Linked DNA regions of Homo sapiens: region 1 is linked to region 2. Evidence: promoter capture Hi-C in human tissues and cell types (Jung and others, 2019). All regions are on one chromosome and are shown on one strand. The core of a region is centred on a gene start or on the middle of the fragment in contact, and the rest is flanking DNA. Distances in the headings are between cores, read along the strand shown.

The links. The method cuts DNA at HindIII sites, captures the fragments that hold promoters and counts their contacts. A contact is called where the count stands out against the background at its distance.
Region 1: a fragment that was not itself captured here is called in contact with the fragment with the promoter of ADD1 in region 2 in 2 of the 25 tissues and cell types used here (hippocampus and pancreas).

The regions. Positions count from the first base shown.
Region 1 is chr4:2,977,376-2,983,873 of GRCh38, forward strand. All of the region lies in intron 1 of GRK4 (G protein-coupled receptor kinase 4), which reads left to right. Among named protein-coding and RNA genes, the nearest start is that of GRK4, 17 kb to the left of the region's middle. The HindIII fragment of the contact is 3,818 bases long and covers 176-3,993 here.
Region 2 is chr4:2,839,032-2,846,337 of GRCh38, forward strand. ADD1 (adducin 1) reads left to right here and starts at 4,813. Exons shown (of 16, transcript NM_001354761.2): 1 at 4,813-4,993. It overlaps SH3BP2 (SH3 domain binding protein 2), which reads left to right. Exons shown (of 13, transcript NM_001122681.2): 13 at 1-2,065. RefSeq lists an enhancer at 3,585-4,096 and silencers at 4,225-4,274, 4,375-4,754, 4,815-5,004, 5,125-5,274. The HindIII fragment of the contact is 4,953 bases long and covers 3,493-7,306 here.

The sequences.
Region 1 (6,498 bases), core at 835-3,334, 140 kb after region 2:
ACTGAATAACGCAGAGCTCCGGCTGCTACGCCTACTGCTAGACCATCTGTTTACCCAGGGTTTTTTATTAGGTTAATATTTCCCTCTAGATACTGACATCTGTATCAGTTAAACTGATACTTGCTGCTGTAACAGGTAAACCTTAAAATCTCTGTTGTTTGTGGAGCAATAAGAATAGAATTTATTTTTCATTTCCATAAAAGCCACGTTGAGGGCGGTCAGGGAGGGAGTGGGTGAGTAGACTGTGCTTTGTGCAGTCATTGAGGATTCCAGGCTGGCAGAAGTTCTGAGTCATCAGCACATGGCTCCCAAGATCCTCCTGTGGATCTCGGTCCATCTACGAAACAAAGAAGCGAGAGAGCACGGAGAACCGTGTGGGAGATTCTTCCAGGCCAGGCGTGGAAGTGGCATAAACACTTCTGTCCACATTCTGTTGTCCAGATCACAGTCAGATGGCCCCCCTCCCCACAGGGGACTGGGAAATGTCCCTCATTGGGCTGCCACTTCCCAGCAGCAGCTCTGTTGTGACTATTAGGAGTTCACTATATATTCTGATTACTCATCCCTTATCAGGTATATAATGTGCAAATGTTTTCCCCCATTCCATGGGCTTATGAAGTTCATTTTGCCTATTTTTTCTTTTGTAACATGAGCCTTTGGTGCCCTGACTATATCTCTTTTGACAATAAAATATTTTCCTTCTTTTTTACAGCTAAAATTGAGAATAAACTAGGTTTTATAGAAATTCCTAAAAGTCAGTTGCTGTATTAATCTATCCTAAAGATCCATATTGAGTGGGAAGAAAAAGGGAAAACAACTTTCATCTTTAAAATTACTTTATGTAGAAGGTTCTTGGTTATCTCATAGACTGTGGCTTCACACATTAAGCTAATTGATAATATGCTAAGTTTTTAAGAATCTTTTAAAAACTTGGTCTGATAGGATTCTGTAATTGAGCTAATCGATTCTATTGTCAATCTAAAAAAAGATATCAGAGAAAAATATCTCTGAATTTAATGAATGAATTAGGGAGTAAGCAAAGAGGATTATAATTTGGGATGCACAGCCATGGCGAGCCACAGGTGCACCCGAAAAGGGGAAAGGAAGAGGAAGCTTTTATTTGGCAGACAGGGAGAGGTTCACATAAGCTGCTTGGAAACAGAGTTCACTGGTTCCAGAGGCTCAAAATCGTAGTTGGCATCAGTTCTGTGGTGGAGATGCCACTAGGGGGCAGGTGTTCTTTCAAGAGCATCTTATCTCAATTGCTGCCGTCCTAAAAAAAGTCCAGGCCAGGCAAGGTGGCTCATGCTTGTAATCCCAGTTGTTTGAGAGGCTGAGGCAGGAGGGTCGATTGGGCCCAGGGGTCTGAGACTAGCTTGGGCAACATGGCAAGATCTCTTCTCTACAAAAGCTTTTTAAAAAAATAGCCATGTGTGGCCAGGCACAGTGGCTCATGCCTGTAATCCCAGCACTTTGGGAGGCCGAGGTGGGCGGATCTCCTGAGTTCAGGAGTTCGAGACCAGCCTGGCCCACATGCTGAAACCCCGTCTCTTACTGAAAATACACAAATTAGGCTGGGCACGGTGACTCACGCCTGTGATCCCAGCACTTTGGGAGGCCAAGGCAGGCGGATCATGAGGTCAGGAGATCGAGACCATCCTGGTTAACGTGGTGAAACACCGTCTGTAAATACAAAAAAATTAGCCAGGCATGGTGATGGGCGCCTATAGTCCCACCTACTTGGGAGGCTGAGGCAGGAGAATGGTGTGAACCCAGGAGGTGGAGCTTGCAGTGAGCCGAGATCGCGCCATTGCACTCCAGCCTGGGCAACAGAACGAGACTCCGTCTCAAAAAAAAAAACAAAAAAAAACCCCACAAATTACCTGGGTGTGGTGGCAGGCGCCTGCAATCCCAGCTATTCTGGAGGCTAAAGTGGGAGAATCACCTGAACCCAGGAGGTGGAGGTTGCAATCATCTGAGATGGTGCCACTGCACTCCAACCTGAGTGACAGAGGGAGACTCTGTCTCAAAAAAAAAAAAAAAAAAAAAAAGAGTGGCCAGGCACGGTGGCTCACGCCTGTAATCCCAGCACTTTGGGGAGGCCGAGGCGGGCGGATCACCTGAGGTCAGGAGTTCGAGACCAGCCTGACCAACATGGAGAAACCCTGTCTCTACTAAAGATACAAAATTAGCCGGGCGTGGTGGCACATGCCTGTAATCCCAGCTACTCAGGAGGCTGAGCCAGGAGAATTGCTTGAACCCAGTAGGCGGAGGTTGTGGTGAGCCAAGATCACACCATTGCACTCCAGCCTGGGCAACAAGAGTGAAACTCCGTCCCCCTACCCCCCCAAAAAAAATCCATGTGTGGTGGTGCATGCTTGTGGTCCCAGCTGCTGAGGAGGCTGAGGTAGCTGGATCTCTTGAGTCCAGGAAGTCAAGGCTGCAGTGAGACTTGCATTCTGCATTCTAGCCTGGGTGACAGAGCAAGACCCTATCTCAAAAAAGAAAAAAAATGGTCCAGTGTACCTGGTCTCAGAAATACCTGCATATGTGCCAAATGTAGGTTGTGAAAAGCATGAAATGCATGAAGGATGTGAAAGAATTTCTTGTGGGGTTATTTTAGACACTCCTCCTAATGGTTCTTATCTCAGACATGTAAGCAAGAACCCTTCTTTGTGCCTTCCCAGCTCCAAGTTTCTTTGGGTCTGACAAGAGTGCTTTCATCCTGTTAGGACCAGCTGCCTGACCCTCCACAGGGTACCCAGAGCCTGGACAGTGCCTGGCACACTGGACATGGACAGCAGATGTCTTCTCAATAAATAATTTGTTAGCCAGGATTCACAGTATGGAAGGATGACTGGGGCTGCCATGGCCACCCAGCCTCCCTGGAGCCTTCACTGCCTGGAGCTGGCTGGGAGTGGCAGCAGCCAGGATGAAGAGGAAAGCCTAGCACCTTGACTTGTTTCCCTCATCATCCAAGATGGGAACCCGGGAACCAGTCTTCAGTGGGAATCTTCTGTCGATGTAGGAAACATACCCTAAAGGGGAAGGGAAGGAACACTGAACCCCACTCATGGGCCTGGTACCTTTCTATACAAGTTATCCTATTTAATCTCCACAACAAGCCTACTAGATGCTGAGATCTCAATGTGCAAATACCCCAGAACAGCACCTAGATGAGGCACAGGGACTCACTGGAAGCCTTGTCTTCCTTGGGCCCATCTGTGAGGAGCAGAACAGCTCACCTCTTGCCTGACAGGCTAGTCCTGGGTAATGCATCCAGCCTACCTCTTGTTGCCACCCTACCCCACCGTCAGTGCCACATACCCGTGAACACAAACCCACTGGGGCTGAGCGGCTGTGCCACTGTCACAGGATCCTTAGGGTGTCACTTCACCAGCTGGAGACTTCTGTGGCCAGTGGCGGCTTTACCTGAGTTTTGCTTGGGCCCACTGGGCTCCTTCCACCCACTTGGCCTGGCAGGCTGTGCTTGTCTTTCACTACTGGTCCAGATCCCATGCCTGCCAAGGGCAAGCCAGGTGCAGAGCAGCAAGGGTTGCATGAGCAAATGAGTGTGGGGTCTGGCCATTGGGCACAGCCAGGCATGCCAGCTGTGGCAGGGCAGGCAGCTCCAGGCACAGGCGCTGGTTACCTGCTGTGGCTGTGGCTAGACCAAGCGTACTGCAAGCAGCTGCCACTGTGGGTGCCAGGGAATGCGGTGGCGCCCAGAAGCTTGGAGACTTCAGGAACCACAGAGCTTCAAAGAGGGTGTCACAGCCTTGGCTGGGGGAGGTCCTAAGTCTCGGCTCCCCAAGGGGCCACAGCTCTTATCTCCTCTCTTCTCTCCTTCTCATCACCCACAACGTGGTGAGTTGGGGGGTGTGCTTCAGCCTGTTTGTATTACAGCTCTTTCAGTCCCACCATTCAGTGGGTCCCAAGTTCTTGTCCCATGTCCAGGAAGAATGAGGTACACAGACAACTGGAGGGTAAGCAAGAAGAGGTGCTTTATTGAGTGACAGTACAGCTCTCAGGAGACCCAAAATGGGTAGCTCCTTTCTGCAGGCAGATCATCCCATCGTCTGTGCAGCCCTCAGAGGAGAGGAGACCTGGAGTGGGTAGCTCCTATCTGCAGGCAGGTTGTCCTGATGAGTATACAGCCCTCAGTGGAAAGGAGACCCACAGTGGGTAGCACCTCTCTGCAGGCAGGTTGTCCTGTTTTCTGCCCAAGTCTGGCTGAGTCTGGGGTTTTTATAAGCTTCAGAGGGGAGGAAGTACATGCTGATTGGTCCGTGGGCGGGCCCAGAAAAACCACCATAAGTTCTCACTCCAGTCTGCAGAACTGGCAGCCCGGCTGTCAGGCTTCAGTCTATCCCTGGCTTGAAGGTGAGGTTTCACTGGGGACCCTGCCCCTTTCTACCCAGGAGCCTGTCTGCCTCCTGCCCTTGTTCATGGTGCCCTGGCTGTTTGTGTGCCCTGGCCTGCACTGAGCTGAACTCAGCCACGCCTTGGCCTCCCTGCCATGCTCATTGGTGTCCAAAGTCTGGAGGGGGCTGAGGTGGCAGGTGGCTGGTGTGTCAGCACCGCCCCTATCGTGCACACACCTGGCTGGGTTGTGACAGTGCCTGGGCTCAGCCACAACTTTGATCCAAAATCGGAGCAGGTGCCAGGAGCAGTGAGAGGCCAGTCAGTGGGAACAGGCACTTCTGAGCCTGCAGGGGCAGGGGGGCTTCCTGGGCTCCTGAGAGCACAGGGATGCCCAGGTCAGCAGCTGTGGCTGGGTGGCTGCAGCTGCTCCCAGTAGTGTGGGGCTCCTGCCCCACCAACCTGGAAGGGGGTAGGGCTCCCACCTGTTCCTGGCTTCCGCCGGCACTGGCCACTGCTGCCAGCACCACCTCATCCAGGCCCTGCCTGCCTCGCTGCTTGGATCCTGGGAAGGTGGAAGCACTGGTTCTAAGCCTACAGGCAGTGTCAGGCTTAGGAAAGGAAGGACATAGCAGCCAGGCTGCCATGTTTCTTGCTAGTTACTTGAGTAGTGTAAAGTTGGGAGAAGCCAGGGAACAAGAGAAAGCAGAGATAGTGAAATATGAATAAGACCAAGAGGGACTTGTTCTCTGCTCAATGATTCAGCAGCTTGGGCACAGAAGCACCACTGAAGATGTAAGCCATGTCTCAGGGCACTTGTAGATCATGCTTGTTTTCCACTTGTGGAATCTAGAGGGCAAAATACTGCATCAGGCAAGTGACAGCTCAGCTCTGTACTCCTTTAAGAGGTCAGATAAAAATGGCATATCCCAAAGAACAGTTCTTATTTCAACTGAAGGGAGAACCAGCAATAACCCTGAAAAAAATAACCCATAACCAAAGATGATAGCCTTTTTTCAGTGCCTACTGCTTCTCTGGAATGAGTTTCTGTGTTCTCTGTGAAGGGACAGGAGGAACAGGTCACCCTTTCCCCACCCTTCAGTGACATAGGACATGGCTGTCACTGACACAGCACTTGACATATTCTCTGGCATTGGCAGGTGGTTGTTACATGTTTATTAAATAAACAAATCTTAACAGAAAGAAAAAATGTGGACTGGATTTGAGGGGGAAGATTATGAGTCTAGGGTGAACATGTTGAATGCCAGGTGCTCTGGACATCTTGTGGTGTGGGACGTGAGTCCAGAGCTCATGATCTCAGTTGAAATATTGAGTAGGGGGAGTAGAAGAGCAAAACTAAGGCTGAGGAAGAAGCTCTTACATCTTTGATGGTTTTCTTTTTTGCAGATATCAAGTCTGTATCTCTAGCCGAGCCTCTTCTGAGCTCATCCCAGTCTACCCATCTTCCAAATGTCTGTCTCTTACAATTTTCCACACTCACCGTATTTAAGACAGAGCTCATCGTGTTCCAAGGAAATGTGGCTTTTGCCCTGGTTTCCTAATTCTTCCAAATGGTCCTGGAGTCTTAGTCACCCAGCCTAAGCCATTATGTTCTCCTGGATAAAATTCAGTAAAATTTTAGCTGCCCAGAAGGCTTGAGATTGAAGATGCTCATTTCTCTGAGTTGAATTAAAGAAAAAATGGTGCTTGTTTAAAAGATCTTTCTGAAGTATTATAGTGTAGCCTTTTCCATCATTCTGGTTTCACCATGGGATGCTCTTCTCCCAGCACTTGCCAAGACTCTGCCACTCACATCCTTCAGGCCTCTGCCTAAATGTGACCCCTGTAGGGAGGTCTTCTCTGATCCTACCTTAGTCAAAACAGCACCTTCCACCTTTACCCTGCTTGATTTTGTTTCATATTTATCACTATATGATTAGCATTTTTTTCTTATCTCTTATCATTATCTGATTTGTGCACCTGTCTCCCTGTATTAGTCCATTTTCACACTGCTGTGAAGATACTACCTGAGACTGGGTAATTTATAAATAAAAGAGGTTTAATTGACTCACAGTTCTGCATGGCTAGAGGGGCCTCAGGAAACTTACAATCATGGTGAAAAGCGAAGGGGAAGCA
Region 2 (7,306 bases), core at 3,563-6,062:
TGGCCTTAATTTGCATTTAGCTAATTACCAAGGAGATTGAGCATATTTTTATGTTTTTATTAACCATTTTGATTTTGTCTCCTGTGAAGTGTCTATCATCTTTTGCCCATTTTTTAACTTGTTGTCTTTTTCTTTTTCTTTTCTTTTTTTTTTTTTCTGAGACAGGGTCTCACTCTGTTGCCCTGGCTGGAGTGCAGTGGTGCAATCTCAGCTCACTGCAGCCTTGAGTCAGGCTCAGGTGATTCTCTCACCTCAGCCTCCCAAGTAGCTGGGACCACAGGCCCACACCACCAAGCCCAGCTAATTTTTTGTATTTTTAAGTAGAGACGGGTTTCATCATGTTATGCAGGCTGCTCTCAAACTCTTGAGCTCAAGCGATCTGCTGGCCTCAGCCTCCCAAAGTTGGGATTATAGGCGTGAGCTACCAGATTTTTTCTTATTAATCTAATAATTCTTTGTATAGTCTTGATATTATCCATAATGTGTATTGCAAATATCTTCTCTAACTCTGGCTTGACTGTTTATGGTGTCCTTTTTTTTTGGGGGGGGTTTTTTGAGACAAGGTCTTGCTCTGTCACCCAGGCTGGAGTGTTATGGCACAATCTTGGCTTATTGCAGCCTCAATTCCTAGGCTTAAACAGTCCTCCCACCTCAGCCTCCTGAGTAGCCGGAACTACAGTCACGCACTTCCATGTCCAGATAATTTTTTTTTTTTTTTTAGAGATAGGATCTTACTATGCCCCAGCTGGTCTCAAACTCCTAGACTCAATGAGCCTCCCATCTTGACCTCCCAAAGTGCTGGGAGTACAGGCATGAGCCACTGTGCATGCCAGTTCTTATTTTTAATGCAGTTGAATTGATCAGTGTTTTCATTTTGGTTAGTGCTTTTTGTGGCTTAAGAAATTCTTTCCAGGCTGGGTACAGTGGCTCACACCTGTAATGCCAGCACTTTGGGGGCAGAGGCAGGAGGATTACTTGAGCTCAGGAGTTTGAGACCAACCTGGACAACATGGCGAAACACCATCTCTACAAAAAATACAAAAATTAGCTGGACATGGTGGTGCGTGCCTGTAGTCCCAGCTACTCAGGTGGCTGGGGTGAGAGGATTGCTTGAGCCCAGAAGGTCAAGGCTGCAGTGAGCTGTGATTGTGCCACTGCACTTCAGCCTGTGAGACAGAGTGAGACCCTATCTCAAAAAAAACCAAAAAAAAAAAAAAAAAAAAGAAAACCACTGAAATTATTTCCACTCCAAGGTCATGAAGATAGTCTCTTAGATTATATTCTGAAATCCTTATAAATGTAAATTTCATATTTAGGCCTTTAATTCACCTAGATTTGGTTTTTTGCATATGGTGTGAGGTAAGGATTCACTTTCATTTTTTTCTCTCCATAGGGTTACACACCTGTCCTATCATTGTTTGTAATCTAACTTTCTGCGCCCATCTGCAATGCCACCTCTGTCATATGTCCACATATGACATATGTAGATCTGTTGTTGGATTCTTTCCTCTGTTCCATTAGTCTGTCTGTTCTTGTGCCAATATCAAGCTGTCTTCATTATTATCAATTATGTATTGAGATCTGATAAAGTAAGTCTTTTCCACCTTATTTTTCTTCTTTGAGAGTGTCTTGACTATTCTGGCTCTTTGTATTTTCATGTAAGGTTTTTCTCCCATATAAGTTTTAAAATCAGCTTGTCAATTCCAACAACAATGATGCACTTGATAGTTTGGGAATTTATTATAGCTATCAATCAGTTTTGGGAAAATTGACGTCTTTACAATATTGAGTTTTCTGATTCATGAACATGGTTTACCTCTCTTTCCATTTGGGTCTTCTTTAAGGTTTACCAATAGGATTTTATATTTTTGTCCATTGTGGTCTTGCTTATCTTAAGTTTGATTTGTAAATATTTTATGTTTCTTTTAGTCTATTGTAAATTGTGTATTTTTAATTTCATTTTTTTTTTTGTTAATAGCATATAAAACACACCTTGTCTTTTAACTGGAGCATTTTGTCCATTGTGTATTTAATGTAATTAAATCTACCATCTTATTTTATGCTACATATTGTCTCACTTGTGTTTGTGTTTTCTTCCTCCCTTTTCTCTCCTTTTCCCCTTCTTTGAGATTGAGCAACTTAAAACAAATCATTTCATTTCCCCCCTTCTCCTAGTTAGAAAGTTAAACACTCTCTATTCTTACTGAAGTCTAGAGTTAACTAATAAATACTTTTATCCTCCTCCTGGACAACATAAGGACCTCAGGTGACTTTCATTGGTCTCCCTCATTACTTGATATTATTGTTGTATATATCTAATTCTAACTCAATGTATTTTAAAACTCTCACCTAAGACCGTATTTGTTTTTTTGTTTTTTTTTTTTTGGAGGCAGAGTCTCTGTCACCCAGGCTGGAGTGCAGTGGCGCCATCTTGGCTCATTGCAACCTCCATCTCCTGGGTTCAAGCAATTCTTGTGCCTCAGCCTCCTGAGTAGCTGGAATTACAGGTGCCTGCCACCAGACCCAGCTAATTTCTTGTATTTTTAGTAGAGACAGTGTTCTGCCATGTTGTCCATGTTGATCTCTTAACTCCTGAGCTCAGGCAATCCTCCCGCCTTGGCCTCCCAAATTGCTAGGATTACAGGCAAGAGCCACCACGCCTGGACCTTTTTACTTTTTTGTAGTTGGAAAAGGAAGGAATATTTTAATAGCTTTAAAATTGTTTTATTATGATAAAATTTTCATATTATAAAGTTTATCATTTTAATTATTTTAAAGTGTACAGTTCTGTGGCTTTGCGAATATTCATATTATTGTTCAGTCATCACCACCATCCATCTCCAGAACTTTTTCATCACCCCAAGCTTAAACTCTGTACCCATTAAACACTAAATCCCCATTCCTCCAGCCCTTTGCAACCACCATTCTACCTCCTGTCTCTCTGAATTTGACTACTCTAGACACCTCATACAAGTGGAATCATACATTTATCTTTTTGTGATTGGGTTATTTCACATAGCATGTCTTCAGTGTTCATCCATGTTGTAGCATGCGTCAGAATTTCCTTTCTTTTGGCCAGGCATCGTGGTTTATGGGTTTATGCCTGTAATCCCAGCACTTTGGGAGGCTGAGTTTGGATTTGGGAAGATTGCTTGAGCCTAGGAGTTTGAGACCAGCCCTGGCAACATAGTGAGATCCCGTCTCTACAAAAAATAACAAAAATTAGCCAGGCATGTTGGCACGTGCTGGTAGTCCCAGCTACTTGGGAGGCTGAGGCAGGAGGATCCCTTGAGCCTAGGAGGTCAAGGCTGCAGTGAGCCATGGTTGCAACACTGCACTGCAGCCTGGGCGACAGAGACCCTGACTCCAAAAAAAAAAAAAAAAAAAAAAAAAAGGCACAAAACCCCAATAAATAGAATTTCCTTCTCTGCATAATGCTGCTATGAACATGGTACAAATAGCTGTTTTCATTTCTTTGGGGTATATATCCAGAAGTGGAATTGCTGGATTATGTGGTAATTATGTTTAATTTTTTGAGGAACCACTCTACGGTTTTCCACAGCAGCCACACCATTTTACATTCCCGTCAGCGATGCACAAAGGGTTCCAATTTCTCCGCATCTTTGCCAACACTTATTTTCTTTTTTTCCTCTTCTTCCTCCTTCTCCCCCCTTGAAACTTTTTGTTTTCTTCTCGTTTTTGTAGAGAACAGGGTCTCCTTATGTTGTCCAGTCAAGTCTGCCAACTCCTGGGCTCAGGCTATCCTCCTGTTTCTGCCTCCCTAAGTGCTGGGATTTTAGGCTGAAGCCACTGCGCCCAACTCCCTGCTTCTTCAACTGCCATCCTAATGAATGTTAAGTGGTATCCCACAGTGGTTTTGATTTGCGTTTCCCTAGTGATTAACTATGGGAAGCAGAAGTGAATGAGACAGAATTGTGATCTTGTCAGAAAAATCGTCTTGGAAAAGCCAACGTCCAACAGAAATGGTTAGAACAGGGGTCGCTGGCTTCCATCCAGACAGTATCCCTGACCCTTGTTGGGGCAATGTCACAGAGGCTCCTGCTGAGCAGGGAGGTCTGGATTCCACACTCTTCTGCCACTGCCCAGCTCTGGACCTAAGCTTTCTATGGGTGTCAAGAGGACAAGCAGCCGTGCCCATTTGTCTCGCTGCTTGTTTTTTTGGGTGTCAGATGCGCCAGCAGGAGGGACAGTGTGCGGGAAGGTGCTGGTCTGAGGCTGGTCCTGCCAAAGCCCCGCAGGCTCACTCCCTGGTCGTGCGGAGGTGGCTGGTGCTCGCTGGTCTCCTCAGCACCCGCAGGCCGGGCCCGGGGGCCAGGCAGTTGTCCTCTGTGGAGCCTTATCGGGGCCCACAGGCCCTGCTGCCTTGACCCCACCCGGGCCCCAAAACTCGGCCTGGGGACTGCACAAGGCGGGGCTACGCGGGGCAGGGCCCGTCTGCTGGGGGAGTGCGCTGGGCGGCGGCGGGAGGGCAGGGTCCCTGGGCTCCGACAGCCCCTCCGGCGGAGGTCAATCACAATGAAACCGTGTCCAGCGGACCCGGCAGGGGCTCGCCGCAGTCTACCTGGCCACCGTGAAGCCATGACCTGGCGCCCGAAGCTGCCGGCCGGGGTGTACTCCGCGCGGGACCCTGGGCCTCCGCAGGCCCCGGCGGGGTCGCCCCGAGGCGGGCCTGGCGAGTCCAATCGCCCTGCCCGCAGGGGACCCGCCCCTCATGGGTCCCGCCAATCGCAGGGTACGTTGCTCGGCAGTGCTGCGCGGCTTGGCCTATGGGACGGCGCGTTGTTGGGCTGCAGCGCCGCAGGCCGCACCCAGGTCGGGCGGTGGGGGCGAGCGGAGGGGCTGAGGGGCGGAGAGGCCTGGCGGGCCGCTGCTGCGGGCCAGGGGACGGGGGCGGAGCCGGAGCCGGAGCCGACGGGCGGTGGCCGCACTGGGACCCCGGAATCCCGCGCGCTGCCCACGATTCGCTTCTGAGGTGAGGCTAGCTAGCGGGGGCGGCGGGGGCCCGGTTCGGGCTGAGGCGGCGGCGGGGGCGCGGGGAACTGGGCCGCGGTTGCGGCGGGCGGGGGCCGCGGGGCCTGCGGCGGCCCGGGCAGCCTCGGGGGCGGGGAGGCCGCTGCGGCGCCGAGGGCGTCTTGGAGGGGTCCCCGCGGGGCCTTCGGCCTGGGCCGAGCCGGGGAGCGAGGGCGCCGCAGATCTTTCATCGGGATAGGACCCCGGGGACTAGGCTTTTCCCGGGCCGCTCGTTCCTGGCCGGCTTGTGGGCTGCAGGGGTGGGGGCGGAGGAGGACGACCCTGGCTGGACGCTGGTCAGCATCCTGCTTGTGAGACCGGTTCCGCGGTCCGCAGCGCTGGTGGCTGCAAGGTTTGTGTACGGACGCATCTGTCGGCTCTCGTATTTAAAAACGACGGCTTCTGCCAAAAGAGAAAAGCCATATCTGCCGACGGACGCTCGAGAGATAATCGTGGAACTTTATCAGCGATGGGGCTGTTGGTCACCTTTGCCCTCCCTCTCTTTTCTTTTTTCTTAATCTTTTATTTTCGTTTTTTGGGAGATGTCAGAGGGCCTTTCCCTGTTAGGATGACTTTTATCTTTGCTCTTGTAATGGCTCAAGATAGTTGGGAGGTAATTTGCATTCACTTTATGCATACCCACCTTGAAAAACGTATTTTGGTTCGCCTGAAACTGTTGTTGGTTTGAGCATAATTTATGTTTAGAAAGACAAAAAGCAATTGTCATATCTCCAAAGACCAAAGACATAGCTGATAGCTGTATGCATTACTGGTAAGTTAAAGAAAGATTTTTTGTGTGAAAAATTGACTGAGATCTTAATGGGGATAGGAAATAGAATGCTGATAGGTCGACTGTGTCTATGAGTAGAGGCGCCTAGTGAAAACAAGCTTGGAGTGGATGAGTAGGAGTTCAACAGGCACCAGAGAGAGGAGGGCATTTCAGGCAGAGGGTGTGAATTGTATGAAAGTGAGTTTGTAAACTTTGGAGCCTTGAATGGACAAAGGCCCGCGATGATACCTTTTTTTTTTGAGACGGAGTCTCGCTCTGTCGCCAGGCTGGAGTACAGTGGCGCGATCTCCAGTCACTGCAATCTCCGCCTCCCAGGTTCAAGCAATTCTCCTACCTCAGCCTCCCGAGTAGCTGGGACTACAGGCGCGCGCCACCACGCCCAGCTAATTTTTGTATTTTTAGTAGAGACGGGGTTTCACCATGTTGGCCAGGATGGTCTCAGTCTCTTGACCTCGTGATCCGTCCGCCTAGGCCTCCAAAAGTGCTGGGATTACAGGCGTGAGCCACCGCGCCTGGCCTACGTTAAAATTTTAATATACTCCTTTGATTTTGACAGTGGAGAAAACTAGAATAGTAAAGTTGTCTTTTCAGGAAGTGGATGATTTGGGCAGTCAAAACTGCTTTTCAGAGTTTCGATGTGGTTTACAATGGTATGGACAGCTGGTATGATTTGTTAGTTTTCTACTTGTGGTGTCTTTAGGTTTTAAAGTTTCGGAGAGTCGCTGAGTGATGTGAGTCTAAACTCTAGCCAGTCCCCGAATTGTGAGATAGTTTTCCTTCTAAAATATACTTCGTACAAGCTGGTCATTTTTCCCCTTAATTCTTTTGATGTTATCTGATATACTGAGAAGGTTTTGTTTGGTGTTCAGTTTTGTGTTACTGATTTTGCCATAAAAACTGTTTATTTACATGATTTTTAGTTTTTAGTTCTTATAGTCTTTGAATTGAATAAGAAAAGTAAATACTGAAATGCTTTGAAAGATAACAAAATATTTACTTATTGCTTGAAACTTAGAGTTAGATTGACTGCCCTTCCTTTCTTTCCTTCCATGTTTACCTCTTAACATATACACATATGTAGAGAGAATAGTATAAACCCCTTTTCTCAACCAGTTTCAACAGTCAATCTTGCTTCATCATATCCCCGCAGTCCTAGATATCCTTTAACCGTTAAATAGTTCAATATGTATATCTTAAAGACTTAAACAAAAGGTAAACATGAGTACCACTATCACAGAAAATGAATAATTCCTTAATACTTTCAAATATCCAGCCAGTGTTAAAATTGTCAGAATTCTCATTTTTTTTCTTAACAATTTCAATCGATCCACATGCTATCTATACAGTGTGACTCATTTTAATTGATAGTTTCCCCTCCATATTTAGTTTTCTCTTGTAATTTATTTATGGATGAAACCTGGTAGTTTGTCATGTGGAGTTATGCACAGTCTCAATTTTACTCTGTGGCATAGTTTCACAGAATTT